2 separate regions of the Homo sapiens genome follow, and region 1 is linked to region 2. Evidence: promoter capture Hi-C in 16 types of primary human blood cells and fetal thymus (Javierre and others, 2016). All regions are on one chromosome and are shown on one strand. Each heading gives the region's core, a stretch centred on a gene start or on the middle of the fragment in contact. The rest is flanking DNA. Distances are from core to core; before and after follow the strand shown.

What was found. Contacts are between HindIII fragments. The CHiCAGO score rates a contact against its expected background, and 5 or more counts as called.
Region 1: a contact is called between a fragment that was not itself captured here and the fragment with the promoter of PAFAH1B2 in region 2, in 1 of 17 cell types (monocytes). The highest score is 6.0, in monocytes.

The regions. Positions count from the first base shown.
Region 1 is chr11:118,768,220-118,776,021 of GRCh38, reverse strand. It overlaps DDX6 (DEAD-box helicase 6), which reads left to right. Exons shown (of 14, transcript NM_004397.6): 5 at 7,670-7,799. Among named protein-coding and RNA genes, the nearest start is that of DDX6, 19 kb to the left of the region's middle. The HindIII fragment of the contact is 1,291 bases long and covers 3,328-4,618 here.
Region 2 is chr11:117,141,231-117,148,253 of GRCh38, reverse strand. PAFAH1B2 (platelet activating factor acetylhydrolase 1b catalytic subunit 2) reads right to left here and starts at 3,967. Exons shown (of 6, transcript NM_002572.4): 1 at 3,836-3,967. RefSeq lists an enhancer at 2,708-2,887 and a silencer at 3,438-3,757. The HindIII fragment of the contact is 2,379 bases long and covers 2,228-4,606 here.

The DNA of each region.
Region 1 (7,802 bases), core at 2,724-5,223, 1.6 Mb before region 2:
TGTAGTACCAGCACACCTGGTTGTTTTTTGTTTTTGTTTTTGTTTTTGTTTTTGGTAGAGTCAAGGTTTTGCCATGTTGACCAGGCTGGTCTTGACCTCCTGGGCTCAAGCAGTCCTCCTGCCTTGGCTTCCCAATGTGCTAGAATTATAGATGTGAACCACTGCACTTAGCCCAGTCCTCATTCTTAGTGGATATTTGCTGACTCCTATTTCTTACCTTGTATTAAAATTTAAAATTAACTTTGTTACTTGTACTCTGAGTGTTGTTATAGCATATAGGCAATTAACTCTTCAGCCACTTAACCAATCTGACATCCAGCTTTTTCTGTAAAGTAGAAATAAGTACTCTCCCTCACAGGATTTTTATTGTTAAGATCAAATGTAGTGTACAACCAAAGTATTTTGAAATAGCAAGGTATTGTATGAGTATATTGTTTTAGATACTCAAGGTCACCACTTGTATTGCCTTTTTCTTTTTTTTTATTGCCTTTTTCTTTCCTATTGTTTTGTCCTGGGGATCCATGGAAAGCACAAGATTATGTGTTTCTTAGAATCAATCAGAGTTACAAGTCACAAATATTAGGATTTTAGAACCGAAACAAAATTTACAGATCCCCTAGTAAAAAAATTTTTTAAATTTTTATTTTCATAGGTTTTTTGGGGGAACAGGTGGTGTTTGGTTACATGAGTAAATTCTTTTGTTTTTGAGACAGGGTTTTGCTCTGTCGCTCAGGCTGGAGTGCAATGGTGTGCTCTCGGCTTACTGCAACCTCTGCCTCCCGGGTTCAAGCGATTCTCGTGCCTCGGCCTCCCAAGTGACTTGGGATTACAGGCGGGCACCAGCATACCCGGCTGATTTTTGTATTTCTGGTGGAGACGGGGTTTCACCATGTTGTCCAGGTTGGTCTTGAACTCCTGACCTCAGGCGATCCACTCTCCTCGGCCTCCCAAAGTACTGGAATTACAGGCGTGAGCCACCACGCCTGGCCAAGTAAATTATTTAGTTGCTATTTCTGAGATTTGGGTGCACCCATCACCCCCCTGGTAAAATATAACCTCATGGCAGGCTGTCTTCTAGTATTCTTTCCATTCTTATCTACCTTCTCGTTTTATTTTTGTCATCCCTCCCCCATTCCTAAAAGTATCTCTTCTATCATGCTTGGTTTTACAGTTTTATCCAGGCATTTTTTTTCCCCTAAATATTAAAACTGCCTTGATTAGATGGGTGAGTCTTCTGCATTTGAATATTTGTTTGAGATGGAATTTAGTTGCAGTTTGGCTGTGAGATTTGGAGAATTGGCTGGGTGCAGTGGCTCATGCCTATAATCCCAGCACTTTGGGAAGCCAAGGTGGGTGGATTGCTTGAGTCCAGGGGTTCAAAACCAGCCTAAACAACATGACAAAACCCTGACTGTACAAAAATTAGCTGGGCATGGGGGACATGTAGTCTTAGATGTTCAGGAGGTTGAGGCTGTAAGTGAGCCAGGATTGTGTCACTGCACTCCATCCTGGGCAACAGAGCAAGACCCTGTCTCACAAAAAAAAAAAAAAAAAAAAGACTGTTAGAGAATTAGGCACTTAAAATTATATGCTCTCAAAAGAGCTTTTACATTGACAGGCTGGAACCAGATATACTACAGATTGCTCCCACAACGTATTTCTAGAGCCATCTGTGACCAGTTCTAGGTCTGGATGCTGTGGCCAGTAGAATAATTGCCATTCTAAAGGTATAGCTTTATAGGAACCTAGACTTCTTTGGAAGGCTTAAGAATATACTGTTTTTGTCTGCTTAGCATTATTTGAAACTTTATATTAACTTTGGGGTTATGATTGAGAAAGATGGCCTCTCTCGTTGCTTCTAAACCCTGGGAACACCTCTTGAAGACTTTTTCGAAACTCTAAGAAGGTGAAGAAATGAGAAGTAGTTGATTATTGAGGGAAACATGGAAGCTCCGTACTGTTGGCAACAAAATTTTGTGCCAGGTCAGCTAAGGTCTAATGAGGATTAATAGTTTACTATTTATAGTTAGGAATTATAGCATTCTGAATCCTGTAAATAAGTCATTCTTCCTGCTAACAATCGGTTTATCATGATTGAAAAAAATATTTCCTAAAAACTCAAAGGTTTTTTTTGTTTGTTTGTTTTGTTTTTTTTTTTGGTGTGTGTTTTGTTTTGTTTTCTTTTTGGGTGGGGTCGGGGAGACAGAGTCTCAGTTTGTCACACTGGCTGGTCTTGAACTCCTGGCCTCAAGCAGTTCTCCTGCCTCAGCCTTGCAGAGGGTTGAGATTACAGGTGTGAGCCACCATCCCCAGCCTAAATTAGAGATATAATTAGAAATTACCATCTCCCTTTTTTTTTTTCCTGTTAAGCAGGGGACATTTGTAACAATCATTGCTACCTCGTCTGGAGTAACCATAGGTTGTTTTTTTGTTTTGTTTTATTTTGTTTTGAGACAGAGTCTCGCTCTGTCGCCCAGGCTGGAGTGCAGTGGTGCAATCTTGGCTCACTGCAAGTTCTGCCTCCTGGGTTCACGCCATTCCCCTACCTCAGCCTCCCAAGTGGCTGGGACTGCAGGCGCCTGCCACCACGCCCGGCTAATTTTTTTGTATTTTTTTAGTAGAGACGGGGTTTCACCATGTTAGCCAGGATGGTCTCCATCTCCTGACCTCATGGTCTGCCCACCTCGGCCTCCCAAAGTGTTGGGATTACAGGCGTGAGCCACCGCGCCCGGCCTTTAACCATAGGTTTTTTTTCCCTCTTGGAAATTAAGGTTTGGAAAATAAGAGGAAGCAGTCAGTGTAAATGCAGCTAGTTGGGTGATGTTGAGCTTTTGTTGGTACCACACTTTTGTAAAATGCCTCTCAATGCTAGGAGATTGGAAAATAAACCATTCTTTAATTATAGGCATCAGAAACCAACTCGATCTAACTTAAGCAAAAGGAAATTTATTGGAAAAATAACGGGAATTCACAAGATTGAGAAGGCTAGAGAAACATACTTGGAAATGACTAAGAATTGAGATAGCTCTGAAGGACTTAGGAAGCTGTAATGGATGCACTATAACAATTTAGATTCTTAGGAGGCAACATTCCGCTGGCCCAGTGTGGGCTATGTGTCTACCACTTGGCTTAGAAAATTGGTGAGGCTTGGTCTGTTGGGACAGGGGAGACCAGGGCATATGTAATTCCTTAGAAGGAAATTGGGGTGTTACTTAGTAAAGGGATACTAGAGTAACCAAAACACAACAAATACTCTTCAGTCATTATCTAAACGTTACAGTGAATGTGAATTTGGAGACCTAAGGTGGCAGATGTCAGCCCTAAGCTTGTGGGGTTGGTTTTTTGGGGTTTTGTTTTTTGGGGGTAATAGCTTTATTGAGATATAAATGACATCACACATCAAAAGTATACAATTTAATGCTTTTTAGTGCATTTAGAGTTCTGCAACCATTACCACAATAAATTTTAGAACATTTTGATCAGTCCCACAAAAGAAACCCTTTTAGCAGTCACACCTCATTTTCCCACACCCCTAAACAACCACTGGTATACTTTCTGTCATTCTAGCTTTGCCTAGTCTGGACATGTCATATAAATAGAATCCTATAGTATGTGTTTTTTTTGTGACTGGCTTCTTTGACTTAGCGTAATGTTTTCCGAGTTCATCTGTGTTGTAGCTTGTATCAATATTCCATTCCTTTTTCCTGAATAATATTTTATTGTATGGCTCTATTACTTCTGATTTATCCAGTCATCAGTTGGTAGACATTTGGGGTTGTTTTCCAAGGACTGAGGATTTAATGTGCTATTTTGTGAAAATCTGAGAAGTAGGAAGGGGATTTAATGATCTCAACTGTCATCCGTCTGAAAAACCTAACTTGTGATTTTAAATAAAATAGCAGGCTGCCTTCCCCTGTTCCCTTTTTAAAATAGGAACTGACCCTGCTTTAACCTTATGAAGTTTTATTTATGAATAAAGTTTGTACTATTATAAAAAAAAACATAGAAGGAACTGGCTATTAAGGATAATGCTGCTATGAAAATTCAGGTGCAGGTTTTTGTGTGGAGATGTTTTTATTTCTCTTCGCTGTATACCTAGAATTGCTAGTTCATATGGTAACTCTTTTTAACCTTTTGAGGAACTGCAAGGCTGGTTTCCAGCGTAGCTGTACATTCCCACTAGCAGTGTATGAGAGTTCCATTTTCTCCAACTTCTTGCCTACATGTTATGTGCAGATCTAAGTTCAAATACTGGCTAAAGCATTTCTTGCTTTGTGACCTTGGGCAAACTAATCCTGTTTAGGATCCATTTTGTCAGTTGTAAAACAAAGTACCTAACTTGAAAGTTGTGCTGAGCACATAGTAAGTTTTAAAAAAAGTTTTCGTTTCCTTCCTCCTTTGCCTTCTCCCTGGCAGTTCCTCATAATTTCCTCTTGTATTTCACAGCTTTTTGAACTTGACTTGAATTCTCTTGCTTTTCATTATTTCCTGAGAAACACTGGTAAGAGGCAGTGTGGATGTGCTGAATTCACTGACTGTTAATCATAATGGCCATCATATAAGGCAAAATATCAGGGTGTCTTAACTTACAGTCTATCACATGTACTTTGTTAAAGCTTTATCCTTGAACAGTTTTTGTAGGGTATAATCCCTGTCAAAGAGGGCAAAGGAATAGAAGTCAATGGCCTTAATCAAGTCAGTCAAAAGATGAACTGAAAAGGGGGATTAGGATACCTCTAGTCTAATTCTGTTCTGCCTCACTTGATTGAAAAAAAGGTTTACACTTTAAAGAACCTGACCCAGCAAGTCGTTATGAGACCATCAGAGACCACCTATCTTACTTTTTCAATACTGTAAAACTGAGTAGTGTGCAGGCAGCCTGTTAAAAACTACAGACTACTGGCACCACAGAACCACAAAAGAGAAAACCTGAGGTGACAGGGTAATGGGAGCCTCTGGAACAACTGGAAATAATGGTTCACTTATCTGTGATGAGGGAAGAAATTTAAGACCAAAGGGTTAAAGCCAAGGTTTTCTTCTTTGTTTGCTTTACCTTAATAAGCAGAGTCTTTAATGCTGGCTGTAAGAACAAGACAACAGTATTTTCTTTTCTTTTCTCTCTCTTTTTTTTTTTTTTTGTGAGACTGAGTCTTGCTCCATTGCCCAGGCTGGAGTGCAGTGGCGCAATCTTGGCCCACTGCAACCTCCTCCTCCTGGGCTCAAGCAGTTCTCCTACCTCAGGCTCCCAAGTAGCTGGGACTACAGGTGCGCACCATGACCATTTTTGTATTTTTAACAGAGATGGGGTTTCACCATGTTGGCCAGGCTGGTCTCGAACTCCTGACCTCAGGTGATCTGCCTACCTCAGCCTCCCAAAGTGCTGGGATTACAGACATGAGCCATCGTTCCCAGCCAACAACAATATTTTCACAGTTGTTCTGGCAGCTGTGTTGTTCTGACCATATGGAACCCATTTATATCCTGTGATTGGAGCTCTAGGTAGAAAGAGTGTTGTCGTGGGAGATGGAAGTCATCCTGCTTATTTAGTCATTTCTACCAATAGCAGCTTTAAAGGGCTAAAGCTGTTTTTTGTTTGTTTGTTTGTTTTTGTCGTTAGCCCAGGCATAGAAGGGACAAATGTCAGTGACTGTGAATTTGGTTCCTAGTATCTTAGTTTTAGAAATTAAAAATTCAGGCCAGACACAGTGGCTCATGCCTGTAATCCCAACACTTTGGGAGGCCGAGGTCGGTGGATCATCTGAGGTCATGAGTTCAAGACCAGCCTGGCCAACATGGTGAAACACCCCGTCTCTACTAAAAATACAAGAATTAGCTGGGTGTGGTGGCACACGCCGTTAATCTAAGCTGCTCGGGAGGCTGAGGCAGGAGAATCGCCTGAACCAGGAGGCGAAAGTTGCAGTGAGCCAAGATCGCACCATTGTACTCCAGCCTGAGTGACAAGAGCGAAACTCTGTCTCAAAAAAAAAAGAAAAAAAATTAAAATTCCACATCATGGCCCGGCGCGCTGGCTCACGCCTGTAATCCCAGCACTTTGGGAGGCCAAAGCGGGTGGATCACGAGGTCAGGAGATCAACACCATCCTGGCTAACACGGTGAAACCCCGTCTCTACTAAAAATACAAAAAAAAAATTAGCCGGGTGTGGTGGCGGGCACCTGTAGTCCCAGCTACTCAGGAAGCTGAGGCAGGAGAATGGCGTGAACCCGGGAGCCAGAGCTTGCAGTGAGCCGAGATTGTGCCACTGCACTCCAGCCTGGGCGACAGAGCGAGACTCTGTCTCAAAAAAAAAAATTCCACATAATTTCCTTTTAACAATTTTTCAACGATCAAGCTTTTTCAACGATCTATTGTATTTTATAGTTTGTTGTTGTTGTTTGTTTTGTTTTTGCAAAGAGTGGGGGTGCTTGCCATGTTGCCCAGGCTGTTCTTGAACTCCTGACCTCTCTTTGTATATGTCTATTTATTTTTAAGTAACTTTTGGGAATCCTTTGCTGTTGTCTGGGAAATTTAAGTTAGTATGAACTACTGTTATTATTTGCAAAATAGATAACAAAGTAAGCCAAATATTAAAATGAGAGGTCACCTTTAGTGATGTGACCGTATTTGAGGTAGCTGCAATAGAATTGAACCTTCAATAGAGAGCACATTACAGAACAGAGAAGTAGGCTGTGGGACAGACATTGGAGATTTACTTATTATATAAATAAATGACAAATAGGACCTGAGGTTAAACTTTCCCAGCCTATTCGTGTTTTGTTGCAGGGATGAGGTGTCCAAGCTACAATTTTTCACTGTGGTCAAATTGGTGTGCTAGTCTCAAAATATATATAGTCTTACCTTGGAATTGTTTTTGTTTTTTCCTTTAAAAATTTTTGTAGAGATGGGGTCTCACCATTTTGCCTAAGCTGTTCTCAAACTCCTGGGCTCAAGTGATCGTTTTGCTTTGGCCTCCCATAATGGTGGGATTACAGATGTGAGCCACTGTATCTAGCCTTTTTTTTTTTTTTTTTTTTTTGAGATGAGACGAGGTCTCTTTCATGCTGGAGTACAGTGGTGCAATCATGGCTCACTTCACCCTTGACCTCCTGGCTCAGCCTCTCAAGGTTTATGGACACCCACCACCACACCCAGCTACTTTCTGTAATTTTTGTAGAGTTGGGGTTTTTCCATGTTGCCTAGTTGCCCGGGCTGGTGTTGAACTCCTGGGCTCAAGTGATCCCCCACTTCTGCCTCCCAGTGTGCTGGGACTACAGGCATGAGCTGCTGTGCCTGGCCATTTTTCCAATTTTTATTTGAAGGAGGCTTTGCTTTTGTTTTGTCTGTATTTTCAAGTGCTATTTATGGGTCAGCCTGAGTTCCTCCATTTTCTTTGTTGTTCTCTTCAGATACACACATAACACAGTTCTTATGACATTGGGTTACAATTTAAAATTCTGTGAGCAGTTCTGGTAAATACTGGTTTATAATGATGTTGATGTTGACTGGTCGTGCTGATTTACTTGGATCTCTGCTATTCATGTAGAATTCAAATGTAGGATACTTAGGACACTTAAAGCAATACCGAAAGAGGTATCCTTCAGTGTATTTCAGAGAGGAATTTGCTTGTGTACTACATTCAGAAGTAATTTTGTATTGTCTTATCTCTTTTAGGAGGAGAGCATTCCCATTGCTTTATCTGGTAGGGATATCTTAGCTAGAGCAAAAAATGGAACAGGCAAGAGCGGTGCCTACCTCATTCCCTTACTTGAACGGCTAGACCTGAAGAAGGACAATATACAAGGTT
Region 2 (7,023 bases), core at 2,718-5,217:
TGGTGAAATCCTGTCTCCACTAAAAATACAAAAGATTAGCCAGGTTGGGTGGCACATACTTGTAATCCCAGCTACTCAGGAGGCTGAGGCATGAGAATCTCTTGAACCCAGGAGGTGGAGGTTGCAGTGAGCAGAGATCACACCACTGCACCCCACTCTGGGTGACAGAGCAAGACTCCATCTAAAAAAAAAAAAAAGAAAAAAAAAAGAAAAAAGATAAATTCTAATTCTAATTTACTAAGTTGTTTCACTTATACTTTCTACTACCCAAATTTAATGGCATTCTGATACCCTGAGCAAAACACTTCCATCTCAACCCTAAATTTCTTCATGGGAAAATAAAAAAAGCATACACATAGAGAAACCGAGGAACAAAATGTCACTTATCTGAAGCTACAAGGCAGGAAGAACTGGGAGGTCACAAAATATTCCTAATTACACAGTCTTTTTGTCTATAGCTATGAATACAAGGTGATCCTTCTTCCCCTACAATGGCAAAGTATCTGAGCAGAAATGTGTTTCTTTGTGTCTTCTGACTCTGATTTTGTATTATTTTGTCAATCAAAATCTTATTACAAAGCAGCTTTCAGTTTTACTGATGCCCATGGCTTGGTAACATTTTTAAACACCAGGAAAAGAAAAACTGAGCCACAAACTCACACAATCTCCTCTTTAAGAACAAAGCTGGAAATGCACAACCTAGAAGACTATGCATATAGAGGATTAAAACAATTTGGAAATCAGAGAAACTGTTGTGGCTGGGTACAGTGTCTCATGCCTGTAATCCCAGCACTTTGGGACACTAAGGCAGGTGGACTGCTTGAGCCCAGGAGTTTGAGACCAGCCTGGGTAACATGGTGAAACTGTGTCTCTACAAAAACCACAACAATTAGCTGGGGGTGGTGGTGCGCCACTGCACTCCAGCCTCAGGGACAGAGCAAGACCCTGTCTCAAAAATAAAAATTAAACTGGCTTTTCTTTTTTTGAGACAGAGTTTCGCTCCCGTTGCCCAGACTGGAGTACAACGGCGCGACCTTGGCTCACTGCAACCTCCGCCTCTCGGGTTCAAGCAATTCTCCCGTCTCAGCATCCCGAGTACTGGGATTACAGGTGCCTGCCACCATGCCCAGCTAATTTTTGTATTTTTAGTGAAGACGGGGTTTCATCATATTGGTCAGGGTGGTCTCGAACTCCTGACATCAGGTGATCCGCCCACCTTGGCTTCCCAAAGTGCTGGGATTACAGGCGTGAGCCACCACGCCCGGCCGGCTTTTTTTTTGTTTTTTTTGAGATAGGGCTTCACTCTGATGCCCAGACTGAAGCACAGTGGAGAAATCATGGCTCACTGCAGTTTCCGCCTCCTGCACTCAAGCGATCCTCCCGAATAGCTGCCTGACCTTTTTTTTTTTTTTTTCCAATAGATGGGGATCTCACCATATTGTTCAGGCTGATCTTGAACTCCTAGGCTCAAGTGATCCTGCTGCCTTGGCCTCCCAAAGTGCTGGAATTACAGGAATGAGTCACAGCACCCAGCCGGCTGTGTTTTGTTTTTTGTTTTTTACCCCGACAGGGTCTCAGTCAGTCGTTAGCTGGAGTGAAGTGGCGTAACACAGCTCACTGCAGCCTTGATCTCCTGGGCTCAAGTGATCCTCCCATTTCTTCCTTCCAGAGTAACTGGTACTGCAGGCCCACGCCACCACACATGGCTAATTTTTAAATTTCGTAGAGACGAGGTCTTGCCATGTTGCTCAGGCTCCAGCTGTTGTATTCTTTCCAATTGAAACGAAGAATTATCTGCTCTTATGGACACATAAAATAAGAACGAACTAAGAGCTACCCAGTGGTAAGACGCAAACTTCTGAGTGACTTTGGGTTTCCTGCGCCTGTTATCCCAGCACTTTGGGAGGCCGAGGCGGGTGGATCACTTGAGGTCGGGAGTTCAAGACCTGCCTGGCCAACGTGGCGAAACCCCGTCTCTACTAAAAAAAAAAAATACAAAATTAGCTGGGTGTGGTGGCACATGCCTATAAGCTTGAACCGGGAGGCAGAGGTTGTAGTGAGTAGAGATCGCGCCACTGCACTCCAGCCTGGGCGACAGACTGAGACTCCGTCACACACACAAAAAAAAAAAAAAAAAAAGAAAGAAAGACCAAGCAGAATGCAAATAAAAGGTCTGAAGAACAAGTTTTGTTAATTTGCCACAACAGACTGTACTCCAGGGGAAGCTTTGTTGTCCATTAAAGTGAGTTCTCTGGGAAGACGAGGAGTAACCGACTTGCACGATTTTCCTGCCTTTTCTATATTCTCTACTTACTATGACAATACAGCACTAGAATTTCCAAGTGCTTATACCAGCATAGTGCAATGTATTTAATGAGAAACCACGTCCAACAACAAAGCGTTATAACTTCTCCAGCTGAGTTAGATGTTTTAGTCTGAACCAGGAAAACAGATGAAGAAAGTTGAACCAAGAATTAAAAGATTTAGAGTTTCCACTCAGACCTAAGACTCTCCACTTTGTTTCAGAGGGAGTGGGTATGGTTATTCTGAAGAAGAAGGCGGCCCTTATCCTGAATGCCCGGTAGCCTCCGTGGGCTGGTGGGTGGTTCCTCCGGTCCAGCACCTCCATAATTTATGATCAAATGCCCAAGCCAACAAACTAATCCTCCCCTTCTCCCCCACAAGGAGGCAACCTTTATGTCAGAACAATGTGCCCAGAAGAAGCCAAAGACACAAGGCACATCCAAGGCAAAGACAATCTTAATTAAGCACTTTCTCCTTCCACTTTCTCCACACCTTTACCCCCGGCCCAACCCCTTCCCATAATTTCAAGCTGTACAAAATGAGGTCCTAGGGTGGATCCGGGTGGTCTTTCCTTTCTCTACGGGTAAGCTCTACAAAGAGGCGAAAGCTCCGAGTGTTAGTTCTTGTTTGTGTATAAATTCTGAAAAGCAACGCTGGCCTGCGAGCTATGAAAAGCAGAAGCATGAGTCACCACGCAACGGGTCAATCAAACCTGTAGACCAGAAGGCACGGATCTGGCAAACGGACGGTGAGCCAGGAAAAAAACATCCCCCCAAACCTCTCCGCTGACAGGTTTATCTAGCTGGCTGACCTTGGGCAGGTCACCAGCCGCTCCGAGCACATTCATGTCTAAGATGAGATGGGGGCTGGAAAGCCTTCCAAGAAATAATCCCTTCCGAGTGGTGACGGTCTATGCAACTTTTGAATAAACACATCCTAAGAGGCAACGGAGAAGTTTCTAAAGAGTTGAAATTTTTCAACAAAAGGAGGAGGGAAAAGTGCTCGGTAAAAACACAACGGAGTAACTGGTTTTGGCCTCCGACCAGACGCGAGGGGAGAGAAGAGTGAGAAGTTAGACCCCTGTGATAAAGGGAAAAGGCAGCAGCGGAGACCCGGGCAGGAGCTGCAGCGCCCAGCCGGGGCGAGCTGGGGTGCGCAAGGCCTACCGCGGGTGGGCCCGGCAGGGCAGGGCAGGGCAGGGCGGGGCGGGGCGCCCGCCGCGCTACCCTCCTGGGAAAGGCCGTGGAGGCGCCGGCCGGCGGCTGAGGAGAAACGCCAGCTTTCGGTATGGAATATCGGGAAAGGGCTCTCAGAGCGAAAACTAGCTGCGCCGGCTGCTGGGAAGCCGACGCTGGGCCCGCAGAGAAGGCGCGCGCTCGCGAGGCCCCCCCCAAGTGGATGGGGCGGCGTGGGGGGAGGGGCCGCAAGGGTGGGGGAGGGGAGGTCGCGGGCCTCTCACAATAACACCTCGCAGCCCCTTCCGACCCCCGCCTCTAAGCCACCGGTTCCCTGCGACCCTGGATGCACTCACTGAAGTAGAGGGTCCGTGCGGGCCCCAAGCGGCTGAGGCGTCGGCGGGTGGCGCGTCGGTCGCTCGCTCGGTCCCGTCGGTCCCGCTCCGGCGCGTCCCTCCTCCGGCCCCAGCACCAGCAGCAGCTCCTCCACTTCCGGTTCCCCTGCCACTCAGCCAAATGGCTTCCGGAAGTCCCGCCCCCATCCTGCCACGCCTCAGCGTGGTTCCTCTCTCCCCGCCTTCGCTCTCCCGGGCGCTGGCGGCGTGCGCCCAGGTGTCCCGCCACACCCCGTTGGGTACCCTGCTTTGTTCTCGCGGTTACCCCCATTTTGTGTGGCGTCTGAGGGACATGGGCTTCTCTCTTTACTCCAGCTGCATCTCTCAATCCTGCGTTCGTGCCACCGCAGTGTGGAGCTGGCATTCGGGACGATGTGGCGTGAAGTCACACTGACGCCATTCCCTTCACACTCAGCCAACTTGGCTTCCTCTTCCACCCATGGAATAAACCAGACTGCTGAAAGTGGGAGGGAAATAGCGGACCAAGGTTAAGGAGGCAGTACCTGACATTTATTAGTGGAATTTCTGTTTCTATGATGAATGTGGAGATTTTGGGTGACCGCCTGTAAAGGTGATACATAGGGGGATGACGAACCCCAGGCTTTTCCTTAAAAGATACATCCAGTTTAGGGGAAGACATACATATACAAAGTCAATATTGAAAAGATTATATGCTAAATAAATGCAGGATCTATAAAAGTAGAGAGGAGGGGCAAGAGATGTGCTCAAGCTTATAGCAGCGCAACGGTTGCTGGAGCAGTGCCCTGAACTGGCCCTTTAAGGATCTCAGCTCTATGCTGGTGAATAGGCAGAGCCTTCCAGGGCTCTTAAACTGATGCGGGGGTGGGGGTTGATTTTGCTGACAAAACCTGTTAAGAATACTGTAAAATCCTGGGAGCCTAAAATGTCAAGATATGTCAAGTAATTTTTCTTTTTTTTTTTTTTTTTTATTCAAGTTCTAGGGTACATGTGCACAACGTGCAGGTTTGTTACATAGGTATACGTGTGCCATGTTGGTTTGCTGCACCCATCAACTCGTCATTTACATTCCGTATTTCTCCTAATGCTATCCCTCCCCCAGCCCCGCAGTCCCCGACAGGCCCCCGTGTGTGATGTTCCCCGCCCTTTGTCCAAGTGTTCTCAGTGTTCAATTCCCACCTATGAGAACATGCGGTGTTTGGTTTTCTGTCCTTGTGATAGTTTGCTGAGAATGATGGTTTCCAGTTTCGTCCATGTCCCTGCAAAGGATATGAACTCATCCTTTTTACAGCTGCATAGTATTTCGTGGTGTATATGTGCCACATTTTCTTAATCCAGTCTATCATTGATGGACATTTGGGTTGGTTCCAAGTCTTTGCTATTGTGAATAGTGCCACAATAAACATACGTGTGCATGTATCTTTATAGCAGCATGATTTATAATCCTTTGGGTATATACCCAGTAATGGGATGGCTGGGTCAAATGGTATTTCTAGTTCTAGATCCTTGAGGAATCGCCACACTGTCTTTCACAATGGTTGAATTAATTTACACTCCCTCCAACAGTGTAAAAGTGTTCCTCTTTCTCCACATCCTCTCCAGCATCTGTTGTTTCCTGACTTTTTAATGATCGCCATTCTAACTGGCATGAGATGGTATCTCATTGTGGTTTTGATTTGCATTTCTCTGATGACCAGTGATGATGAGCATTTTTTCATGTGTCTGTTGGTTGCATAAATGTCTTCTTTTGAGAAGTGTCTGTTCATATCCTTTGCCCACTTTTTGATGGGGTTGTTTGTTTTTTTTCTTGTAAATTTGTTTAAGTTCTTTGTAGATTCTGGATATTAGCCCTTTGTCAGATGGGTAGATTGCAAAAATTTTCTCCCATTCTGTAGGTTGCCTGTTCGCTCTGATGGTAGTTTCTTTTGCCATGCAGAAGCTCTTTAGTTTAATTATATCCCATTTGTCTATTCTGGCTTTTGTTGCCATTGCTTGTGGTGTTTTAGTCAGGAAGTCTTTGCCCATGCCTATGTCCTGAATGGTATTGCCTATGTTTTCTTCTAGGGTTTTTATGGTTTTAGGTCTAACATTTAAGTCTTTACTCCATCTTGAATTAATTTTTGTATAAGGTGTAAGGAAGGGATCCAGTTTCAGCTTTCTACATATGGCTAGCCAGTTTTCCTGGCACCATTTATTAAATAGGGAATCCTTTCCCCATTTCTTGTTTTTGTCAATTTGTCAAAGAGCAGATGGTTGTAGATGTGTGGTGTTATTTCTGAGGCCTCTGTTCTGTTCTGTTGGTCTATATATCTGTTTTGGTGCTAGTACCATGCCGTTTTGGTTACTGTAGCCTTGTAGTATAGTTTGAAGTCAGGTAGCGTGGTGCCTCCAGCTTTGTTCTTTTTGCTTAGGATTGTCTTGGCAATGCGGGCTCTTTTTTGGTTCCATATGAAGTTTAAAGTAGTTTTTTCCAATTCTGTGAAGAAAGTCTTTGGTAGCTTGATGGGGATGGCATTGAATCTATAAATTACCTTGGGCAGTATGGCCATTTTCACAATACTGATTCTTCCTATCCATGAGCATGGAATGTTCTTCCATTTGTTTGTGTCCTCTTTTATTTCACTGAGCAGTGGTTTGTAGTTCTCCTTGACGAGGTCCTTCACATCCCTTGTAAGTTGGATTCCTAGGTATTTTATTCTCTTTGTAGCAATTGTGAATGGGAGTTCACTCATGATTTGGCTCTCTGTTATTGTCTGTTATTGGTGTATAGGAGTGCTTGTGATTTTTGCACATTGATTTTGTATCCTGAGACTTTGCTGAAGTTGCTTATCAGCTTAAGGAGATCTTGGGCTGAGACAATGGGGTTTTCTAAATATACAATCATGTCATCTGCAAACAGGGAAAATTTGACTTCCTCTTTTCCTAATTGAATACCCTTTATTTCTTTCTCTTGCCTGATTGCCCTGGCCAGAACCTCCAACACTATGTTGAATAGGAGTGGTGAGAGAGGGCATCCTTGTCTTGTGCTGGTTTTCAAAGGGAATGCTTCCCGTTTTTGCCCATTCAGTATGATATTGGCTGTGGGTTTGTCATAAATAGCTCTTACTATTTTGAGATACGTTCCATCAATACCTAGTTTATTGCGAGCTTTTAGCATGAAGGGCTGCTGA